Regions from separate parts of the Homo sapiens genome. Here region 1 is linked to region 2. The links are contacts of gene promoters, found by promoter capture Hi-C in human tissues and cell types (Jung and others, 2019). All regions are on one chromosome and are shown on one strand. Each heading gives the region's core, a stretch centred on a gene start or on the middle of the fragment in contact. The rest is flanking DNA. Distances are from core to core; before and after follow the strand shown.

Region 1 (5,051 bases), core at 1,446-3,945, 38 kb before region 2:
CCCTCAGGCTCCTTCTACTTCCTATGACCCCCTCTCCCCCAGCTAAGGGTCCTCCCCTTCCAACAGGGCCAAGGGGATTTGGAATCTTGAATCTGAGATTAGATGGCCACTGGCTGCCCTTTAATCCCGAACTGGTAAGGCAAAACTGAGGCTTTGTTCAAGCTGCCCACTTTCAGTCTTCTTCCTCTGCCAGAACTGAGGGTGCCTGCTGCACTGAGTTAAGTGGAGAGAGGAGGAATTCTAAACCTAGGGCTCCTCTTGAATCTGAATTGCTATTTAGTAGCTTAGGCCCTTCTGTGCTCTAACAGAATGAACTTGCTTACTATATGATCTTAGGCAAGCCGCCCTCCTCCTTCCAAGCCTCAGTTTCCTCTTCTGTGAAATGAGGGAGAATCCCTACTCCTCTTATCTCATTGTCTTATCATTGCATTATTCTTACCTGTTGGGATGGTCAGGTGAGAGGTCTGCATGAGGGCCCTGCAGACTGTAACATTTTAAGAGTGTGGGGAAAGCATGGAAAAAGTCACTCTAGAGATATAAAGGGTGATTACTGCTGTTGTTATATTTATTCTGCTACTTGTTAACACATTCTGCCTAACTCAGAAGATTCAGTTTGGGGCTGAGGGTTGAAAACAGGACTCCTAGGGTTTGTCCCAGCTGCTCACTTGCTGTGTCACTCTTGTTGTGTTGTCGAATCTCTCTGCCTTTGTTTCCCTATCTATTCCTGCCAAGATGATGTGTATATTCCACTTAGCTTATCCTGGAGGAAAAGGGGGCGGAGCTCTATCCACACAAGGTGGTGTTATTATTATTAGCGTGACACATAAAAATATTCATGTCTACATCCAGGAACTAATCTGCATTTATCATTCTGTGCCCGAGTGGACAGATGGTGAAAGATATTTTTAGATTCTGAAATGGTAACTTCCTATTCTTGGTAGGAAGCTTCATCCCCCTTTTCCTTCAGCCTAAAGTGGGCCAGATGCCCCTCGACTCACTGGCTATCCCCCCATTCAGAATCCACTTACAAGAAACTAATACTTCTCTTCTTTGTTAAGCATAAACTGAGTTTCCCTCAAATAGGGCAAAAATGGCCATGGGTGTGGGGTCCCAGGGGAGTAGCTAGAATTGCTAAGGATCCCCTCAGCTCTATGGTTTCTTGGATATGGATAAAAGGACTAGCTATTTCTACTATCTCCCATTTGCAAAATGAGGAGGCTGGGATGAGATAAGTTTGTAGGGATAACAATCTAATAGCTCTTAGGTTGAATGTGGCTTGTGGAAGTGTTTTGTGTGGCTTGCATAGTATTTTAAAAACCCAGAGTCGTAGCTTCCCTTTAAAAAAATTGGATCTAGCAGTATCAATCCTGTAACAATTTAGAAAGAGTCTATGTGCTCTAATTTGTCCATCTTTCCCTTTGATCATATCTGTACTATTTCACTTAGACATGAAAGCCCTAATTTACAGTTCTATAACAATTATTTTATTAAACACTGACTTTGTGCCAAGCCTACTGGTTGCCTTTTTACCTGCTTTATTTCCTGTACCCCTTCTAATCATCCTGTCATGTGGTTAGCATTATAATTTCTACTTGACAGATGAGGGAATGGAGGCTCAGAGAGGGGGCATCCTTGTCCAAGGTCACACAGCTAGGAACTTGAAGAGCTGAGACTCCAGGCTCTCTGCCTTTAAAGCCTGAGTTCAATTTATCCACCTTGTAATTCTGCCACTAAAGTGTCCCTCAAGCTTAAAGAAGTATGAATCTGAGATTCCAAGATTCCAGTATGATAGAAAGTCAGGGCTTCTGTTGCACTGAGATAAGAATGTGAAAAGAGGGGCAGGGAGTTGAACTATGTGGGTGAGGACGGGAACAGTGTGTATTGTGGGGAAAAGGCTGGATTCGGGGGTGGTCTGGTCAGGAGGCTGACATCTTTATCCTAGTTTGTAACTATAGTTTGCTGGGTGACCTTGGGCAAGGCTCTTTCCATCTTTGGGTCTCGGTTTCCCTGTGTGTGAAATGAGATTCAATGTGATGACCTTAAGAGTTTCCCATTCCTGAAATTCTGACTCTGGGTCTATTGCCAAAGCAAAAGCCTCTGGGCCCTTGCCCCCAAAATCTTTGGATTCTAAAATGGCTAAGGGCCTGGATAAATGGAGGGAAAACCCAGAGAAGGTATAGAGAAGCTGCAGGGGCTGGCATTCCTAGAAATTAAGCAATGTTGGCCCAGCACATTTGCTTACCACGTGAGATGTTCCCACAGATGTTCTGAGTGGTGGGGCCTGGGGTAATGAAGAGGGAGATGTGTGATTGAGTCCTCCAGAATCACACCTGGGAGGCTAGGCAGTCACTCACCTCCTGATCCCATTTCCTCAATTCTGAATAAAATAATTATAATCATGAAGATATTTTTCAACCTCTTAGACTTGTAAAATCCTGAATTAAAAATTCAAATGCTTTGAGGACCCAGGCAGGTAACAGACCATAAGACCATAAGATACAAGGGGTGTCAGACAAGAGGACATTCAGGGGCAAGTAGTGTCCGAGGAAAAGGGAAGCTCCAGCTGATCATGCCATGAGAAATCGTGGACCCAGTCTTGATTTCTCAAGAGAAATGGGAAATTGGGATTTTTCCGTGAACTCTCCAAAATTTAACTACTAATTAAAATGTTTAAAAATAGTGTCAACCAAAGGAAACATATTTATTAGCCTGTCTTCTTTGTAACCTCTGGTTTAGCTCTTCAAATTGATAAGGTCTTTTCACACAGAAGATTTTATTACTAATTTAAACATAAAATGAAGCTCTGAAGAGAGAGAGGAGGAGAAAGCATACACAGACACTGCACACCTACCGTGTCCCCACAGGCCCTGTGTGAGTGTTTCAGGCATGTGATCTCATGTTACTCTGAAACCCTCCCCCCTGGTGACTATTGATATACCCATTTATCAGATAAGGAACCTTGTCCAAAAGTCACCCACTGAGGAAGTGAGGAAAGGTGATCAGTCCCAAACCTAGCTCTATCTTTTACACCACACACTGGCTACTTTGGGACATGCCAGAACAATATCTTTGTGCACAGAGAGATTGAACTCTGAGGGAACAGCAAACAGATCCTCTGGCGGGGCACGAAGCTGGCTGTGGCCTGGACACCAACCTGCAACTTCATCCCTCCCTTCCCTTTAAACTCTCTGAGCTGTTAAACTGCCCAGGGTTCTTAAGCTAATTAAAGTCCTAACCCTGTCCCCTCTGACCCTGTAGGCAGCAGAGCAGTAAGCCATGAATCCTGCTTTTCCTAATCTTGAGCTCAGTGGGCCCCAGCTTCACCCAGATAAGCATGGTTTGCTAAGCCAATTAGTGGGAGACGATCTGACATGGGATTCCTGCCAGGCTTTCGGGATCTGGGAACCCCAAAATGGGGAGAAAATTAGGCAATTGGGATTTAGGGGCCCTCCCTCTAATGCCCTCTCTATGCATAGGCCCAGACACTGCACTCTATGTCACCTAAGAAGCCCTGCATGACAGAGAAGTTCTGGAATGAGTTAGTGACCTATTGGAAGGAAATGTCAGGCTCTGGATTTCCCCTCTGGGAAACTACATTCTTGGCATAACGGTTGAGAGGGTTGAGAGCACGGACTCTAGATTCAAGTGTCCTCAGTTTAAATCCAGACTTTACTACTTCTTATATGTGACCTTGACAAGGCAAATAATCTCTCATCCGTTGTAAACTAGGGACCAAAATTGTACCCACCCGCCTCTTAGGTTGTTTCAAGGTTTAATGAGATAATGTGTAAGGGTTCAGCAAAGGGCTCATTCCATCGTTAAATGCTCAGAAACTGCTGGCAATGATTAGTGCATTAGCTTGGGCTTTGCTCCCTGTGGAACAAAGCTTTGTTCACGGAGCACATGGCAGGACAGCAAGGGGGTCCTGAAGTCCCTTGAAGCCATAATGACATGGCAGTCATTCATTTAATCTGCAGTCATTCATTCAGCAGACATTTATTAAGCACCTGCTGTATACCAGGCACTGTTCTAAGTGCTGGGAATAGAGTGGTGAACAAGACAAAGTCCTTGCCCTCTTGGAGCTCAATAGCCTAATGAAGGAACCAATAAGAAAATAAACTATGATATATATTATATGGGATATATAATACCTGGGCCAGATCGTGATAAGTGCTATGGGGAAAAAAATGAAACAGGGCAGGGAGCTACTGGAGTGCCAGGGAGAGGTGTGGCTCTTTGAGATAGGGTGGTCAGGGTGGACCTCTCCAAGGAGGTGGCATGTGGGCAAAGGGCTGCACGAGGTGAGGACAAGCTGTGTAGAGGTCTTGGGGAGGGTTTTGCAGGCAAAGGAAAAGGGAAGGGCAAGGAGAAGGCCTGTGTGGCAGAAATAGAGTGAGGGGAGCATGTTTGGAGATGCTGGTGGACAGATTGGCAGGGGCGAGGTCATGCAGGGCCTCAGAGGCCATGGCAAGGACTAGGGCTTTTACTCTTCATGACACGGGGAGCCCAGGATAATTTGGCCAGAGAAGGAACATGATCTTGACTTGTGTTTTGCAATGTCCACTCTGGCTGCTGGGTGGGGAATAGACTGGAGGGGCCGGGCACAGTGGCTCACGCTTGTAATCCCAGCACTTTGGGAGGCCGAGGCAGGCGGATCACGAGGTCAAGAGATCGAGACCATCCTGGCCAACATGGTGAAAGCCGGTCTCTACTAAAAATACAAAAATTAGCTGGGCATGGTGGTGCGCACCTGTAATCCCAGCTACTCGGGAGGCGGAGGCAGGAGAATCGCTTGAACCTGGCAGGTGGAGGTTGCAGTGAGCCGAGAGTGAGCCACTGCACTCCAGCCTGGGTGACAGAGCAAGACTCCATCTCAAGAGAAAAAGCATAAAAAAGAGAGAGAATAGACTGGAGGGAGGCAGAGTAAGCCTGGAGATGCATGAGGAGGCTGCTACAAAGATGCAGGAGAGAGACAATGGAGACTGGATCAAACTGTAGCAACAGGGATGGGGGTCTGCTTCAGGCTGAGCTAATGCGACCTCTTTCCTTCT
Region 2 (5,049 bases), core at 842-3,341:
TATTCCCATTGGAAAGATAAGAAAGCTGACCGATCTCGTCTGATCTCGGAAGCTAAGCAGGGTCGGGCCTGGTTAGTACTTGGATGGGAGATAAGAAAGCTGACGCCAAGAGAGGTTACAATGAGCAACCTGGACCAGGTCATATACAGCAAATCAGTTCCAGAGCTTAGGTCTCCAGAACCCAGGTGTCTTGGCAAGGTGTGGATGGGCCACACAGAACCTTTCCATCTGTCCTGGGTGGGGCATGCAGAATGCATAGGTCCTAGAGGTAAGGAACGCTAGGCTCAGATCCAGACCAGCCAGAAATCCCAGGTCCTCCTCTTACTCACTGTGTGACCTCCTTGAACCAGGCTCTGAACTTCAGCCTCAGTTTCAAAAATCTGTATAATAGGTACTATCATGGTACTCAACACTGTGAGTAAGTTAAAATATGTAAAGTGTTCAGCACAGAGCCACAAAGGGGACCTTGCCTCCCTAATATACTCCCAAGAGAGCAAAACAGCTCAAGACCCTATGAACATGGTCAGAATAAAAATGGAGTCACTAATGTTAAGAAAACCTTGACAAATAGAGCTGGGGAAGGCCATAGAGGGTTTTCATGCTTGCATAACAAATAAGACTGATAACAAAACAGATAACAACAAGACTGATAACAAAAAAGACTACAAAAATCACAACCTTGCACAAAGGCCATTGAAACCTTGCACAAAAAATACTTCCGCAAGGACATCTGCCCAGCAACTGCCTGTCCAACTTTAGACTGGCATCACCCTTGCTATTGATCTTTGCAATCAAGAATAATTATTTCAGAAACAATAATGTAATCCTTATTTTTTTCCTTTAAAAATCTTTGTCTTCCCCCCACCTCCCTGAAAATGCACATCGCTTACTATGGCATATGGGTAATTCCCACTGCAATGCTTAATTCCTAAGTGAAACATCTTTTATTTTAGAGAGCCTCTGTTTGTTCTTTAATTTGACAACCACTAAGCAGGTAAACAGTTAATGTTTACTGAGCACTTATTTTTTTTCAGTTTTTTTTTTTTTTTTTTTTTTTTTTGAGATGGAGTCTCAGCCAGTCACCAAGGCTGGAGTGTAATGGCTGGATCTCAGCTCACTGCAACCTCCACCACCCAGGTTCAAGCGCTTCTCCTGCCTCAGCCTCCAGAGTAGCTGGGATTACAGGCATGTGCCACCGCACCCGGCTGATTTTTGTATTTTTAGTAGAGACAAGGTTTCACCATGTTGGCGAGGCTGGTCTCGAACTCCTCACCTCAGGTGATCTGCCTGCCTCAGCCTCTCAAAGTGCTGGGATTACAGGTGTGAGCCACCACGCCCAGCCTTACTGAGTACTTAATATGTGCCAGAAGTTCTTCTAGGTGCATTTAATCCCCGCAAGGTCACTATGAGGTTAAACTAGTATTATGCTCATTTTAAAGACGGGAAAACTGAGGCACTGGTGGTTAAGGGACTTCCCAAAGGTCATAACCCTAGTAAGTGCCAAAGCCAGGATTCGAATTCAAGCAGCCTATCTTCAAAGCCCACGCATACTGCCTCCCTTAATAGTAATGATTAATTTTTTAAAATCATAACTTGCTTGGCTACAATACTCTCTATAAGGCACTTTCCATCCACCTTTTCATTTCTCACCACAGCAGCCTAGGGAGGGAGGCAGTGTTGACTCCCAACTTATAGAGAGGAGGGGGAAACAGGCTGTGACAGGGGGAACTGACTTGCCTTGCCAAGGTCACACAACAAGGTCAGTGGCAGAAGTAGGGCTGGAACTTGGAATTTTCCAAACCAGGACTTCAAATGTGGGGGGCCCTTTCCCAGCCTTGGCCAATTCCCAAGCTCCCCCAATAACCCGCCTTCTGGCTAGAGGCCTTGAGCCTCCCTCCTCAGGTCAGCTCTGCCTGGGCTTCCACCCTTCAGCTGCAGGGTCCCAAGGCTGTGTCCTCCACACCCCCTGCCCTCCCCATCAGATGGGAGGGGCAGGAACTCCAGGGCTGGTGGAGTTTCCGACCAGGCAGGAAAAAGAACAAAGGAACTGGATGTGGGGGTGGAAGGGATGGCCAGGAGGGTGGCAGGAGTAGAGGGGACATTTCACCATGGAATATGAAGTCAAGAAAGGGAAGAAGGTAGGTGGGAGGTTGGGAGGGACGAAGGGAGAGGAATGTCCCCAAAGCTGGGGAAGGGGGCAAACTGGGGCGGGGTGGGGGGTCGGTAGCGAGGGGCATAAGTGGAGCCTTTCTTCTCATTTGGAAGTAACTTCCTTCCCACTCTTGGACAGCCAGACAGTCAGGCTCTAAACTCCCTGTTTCTCCACTCTCAGTGGCCTCTGGCATCCCTAACGTGGACAGACAGGGACCTTCTCAGGAAACCTGGCCAGACGGACTCAGTTTGGGAGATTCTCCACACCTGCTTCCCTGGTGTTCCCCGCAGCTCCCTCCTGCAGCCTCTCAGACAGACGGACAGACAGACACCCAGCAGATCCATTCTCCTGCTCGTCACTGCCCCAAACAGAAGGACTCAGCCAGGGCAATTCCGATAGGATGTTGCCTACACAGGCTTGAGTCTCCCACCTGCCCCCTGCCCCTCCCACCTTTCTACAAGGGCGTATGTAAGGCGTCAGCCAGAAGCCATTCCCCTCACCCCTTCTGACTCTGAAGTTTTCTAGTATGCTTCTCTGGGTGTCTCACCTGGTTGTCTTTGGAGTTCAGGGAGGCGCTCTGATTTTAACTTCCATCTTACCCCCATTTCCACCCTCCCCTCTACCCCACCCCCACCAGAAACATATGTCCGGGCTGTTCTAAAAGGTGCCCACATGAATCACAGAGGGCTCAGAAGGGAGCCAAGACATACGTGCATGTTTTCTCTTAGTTTGTTCTTTTAATAGACATTTATTGAGTGCCTATTATGCACCAGGTATTTCTTTTTTTAAAGCAATAAATAAGTTAATGTAAAATTGCATAGAAGGGCCGGGTGCAGTGGCTCACACCTGTAATTCTAGCACTTTGGGAGGCCGAGGCGGGTGGATCACCTGAGGTCAGGGGTTCGAGACCAGCCAGGCCAACATGGCGAAACCCTGTCTCTACTAAAAATACAAAAATTAACTGGGCATGGTGGCACATGCCTGTAATCCCAGCTACTAAGGAGGCTGAAGCTTGAACCTAGGAGGCAGAGGTTGCAGTGAGCCAAGATCGCGCCACTGCACTCCAGCCTGGGTGACAGAGTGAGACTCTGTCTAAAATAAATAAATAAATACATAAATAAAAATTTTTTAAAAATCATAGGAGGTCCCATACTCAGTGCTGGAGGAAACTGATCAGTTTGAGTCGAGAACTGACGGGTGGAAGGAAAGTGGGTAGGGAAGAGTGTTTGAGGCAGAGGAACAGCATGTGCAAAACCCCACAGTGGGAAGTCACATAGCAAGCCAGAGGGACTGAAGGAGGACTGTGTAGTGGGGGCCCAGGGGACAAGAATGAGGCAGATGGGGCTGGACAGGTGGGCAGAGCTGAGCCATTCAGGGCCACCAACAAAAATACTTACCCCTCCCCACCCCTAATACACACACATACGCAAGACAAAGTCCCAGCTCCATAGCCGGCATTCAAGATATGTTCGTCTCATAATCTAGCCACGGCAGACTGACTGCACACAGCTTCTCCAGGCTCACCCTCATCCAGCCTTTGAGGCATCCAGAATTTTGCACATGCTGTGCCCTCTGCTTGGCATGCTTTCTCCCAGATAGTTTCTTCTCATTCCTTAAAGTTGCTACATACCCCATCCTGGCTCCATGATATGGGTTCTAACATAAGCTGAGTACCCATAAGAATCACCTGAGGGCTCATTAAAACACAGATCACTGGGTCTTACCCCCAGTTTCTGGGCCAATAGGCCTGGGATGGGGTTCAAGAAATTGCATTTCTGGCCAGGCACAGTGACTCACGCCTGTAATCGCAACACTTTGGGAGGCTGAGGCAGGAGGATTGCATGAGCCTAGGAGTTCAAGACCAGACTGGGCAACATAGTAAGACCCCATCTCTTTAAAAAATATATATTAGCTAGGTGTGGTGGTGGTGCATGCCTGTGGTCCTAGCTACTGTGAGGCAGAGGTGGGAGGATCGCTGAGTCAGAAAGAATTTGCAATTCTAATAACCCACAGGTTATGCTGATGGCTGTGGGGCCACACTTTGAGAACCACCGGTTTAGATCCTGGCTACTCAAAGCGTGGTGCACAGACCAGTAGTATCAGCACCAGATGGGAGCTTGGTAGAAATGCACAGTCTCAAGCTCCAACCCAACTGTACTGAATCAAAACTCCAGGGCAGATAAAGTTGGAAACTCACTAGTCTAGGTCATTTATCACAAGCCCTGGAGGCAAGGATAGGATCCAGGTCTCCACTGAATCCTCAGCACCCAGCAGAGTCCAGCCATACAGGTGTAAATGTTTACTGAATGAATGAGTAAATGAACAGATGTATTTGTGGACTTGTGTTCTGTTTACCTGGAAAGAACGTGAGCTCCTTGCAGGCAGGGAGGTTGTCTTACTCACATTTGCCTTGTTACACAGTTAAGTAATCACACCACACATTCACTCAGTGGTTTTCAGCTGAGCTGCCTTTTGAAATTACCTAAGAAGGCTTAAAAAAATCTTAATGGACCGAGCTCATTAACCCCAATGGCTCACACCTGTAATCCCAGCACTTTGGGAGGCCAAGGCAGGAGAATCATTTGAGCTCAGGAGTTCAAGCCAGCCCAGGCAACGCAGTGAGACCTCATCTCTACTAAAAATTTAAAAAATTAGCAGGGCATGGTAGCACACACCTGTAGTCCCAATTACTTGGAAGGCTGAGGCAGAGGGATCGCTTGAACCTAAGAGATCAAGGCTGCAGTGAGCTATGATTGTGCCACTGCACTTCAATCTGGGCAACAGAGCAACATCCTATCTCAAAAAAATTAAAAAATAAAAAATTTTATGCCTGGGTCTCAGTCCCAGAATTTCTTATTCAGTTGGTTGGGAGTGTAACCTGAACATCTGAAGTTTTA

Evidence for each region. Contacts are between HindIII fragments. The study calls those that stand out against the background at their distance.
Region 1: a contact is called between a fragment that was not itself captured here and the fragment with the promoter of CCM2L in region 2, in 11 of the 25 tissues and cell types used here (IMR-90 fibroblasts, bladder, lymphoblastoid cells and 8 more).

The regions. Positions count from the first base shown.
Region 1 is chr20:31,969,318-31,974,368 of GRCh38, forward strand. The region is part of intron 1 of XKR7 (XK related 7); the gene reads left to right. Among named protein-coding and RNA genes, the nearest start is that of XKR7, 3.7 kb to the left of the region's middle. RefSeq lists enhancers at 2,759-3,260, 3,261-3,760 and a silencer at 2,849-3,143. The HindIII fragment of the contact is 4,685 bases long and covers 354-5,038 here.
Region 2 is chr20:32,008,347-32,013,395 of GRCh38, forward strand. It overlaps CCM2L (CCM2 like scaffold protein), which reads left to right and starts at 2,092. Exons shown (of 10, transcript NM_001365692.1): 1 at 2,092-2,138. The coding sequence starts at 2,109. It also overlaps the pseudogene RNA5SP481. RefSeq lists enhancers at 1,914-2,441, 3,352-3,943. The HindIII fragment of the contact is 15,048 bases long and covers 1-5,049 here.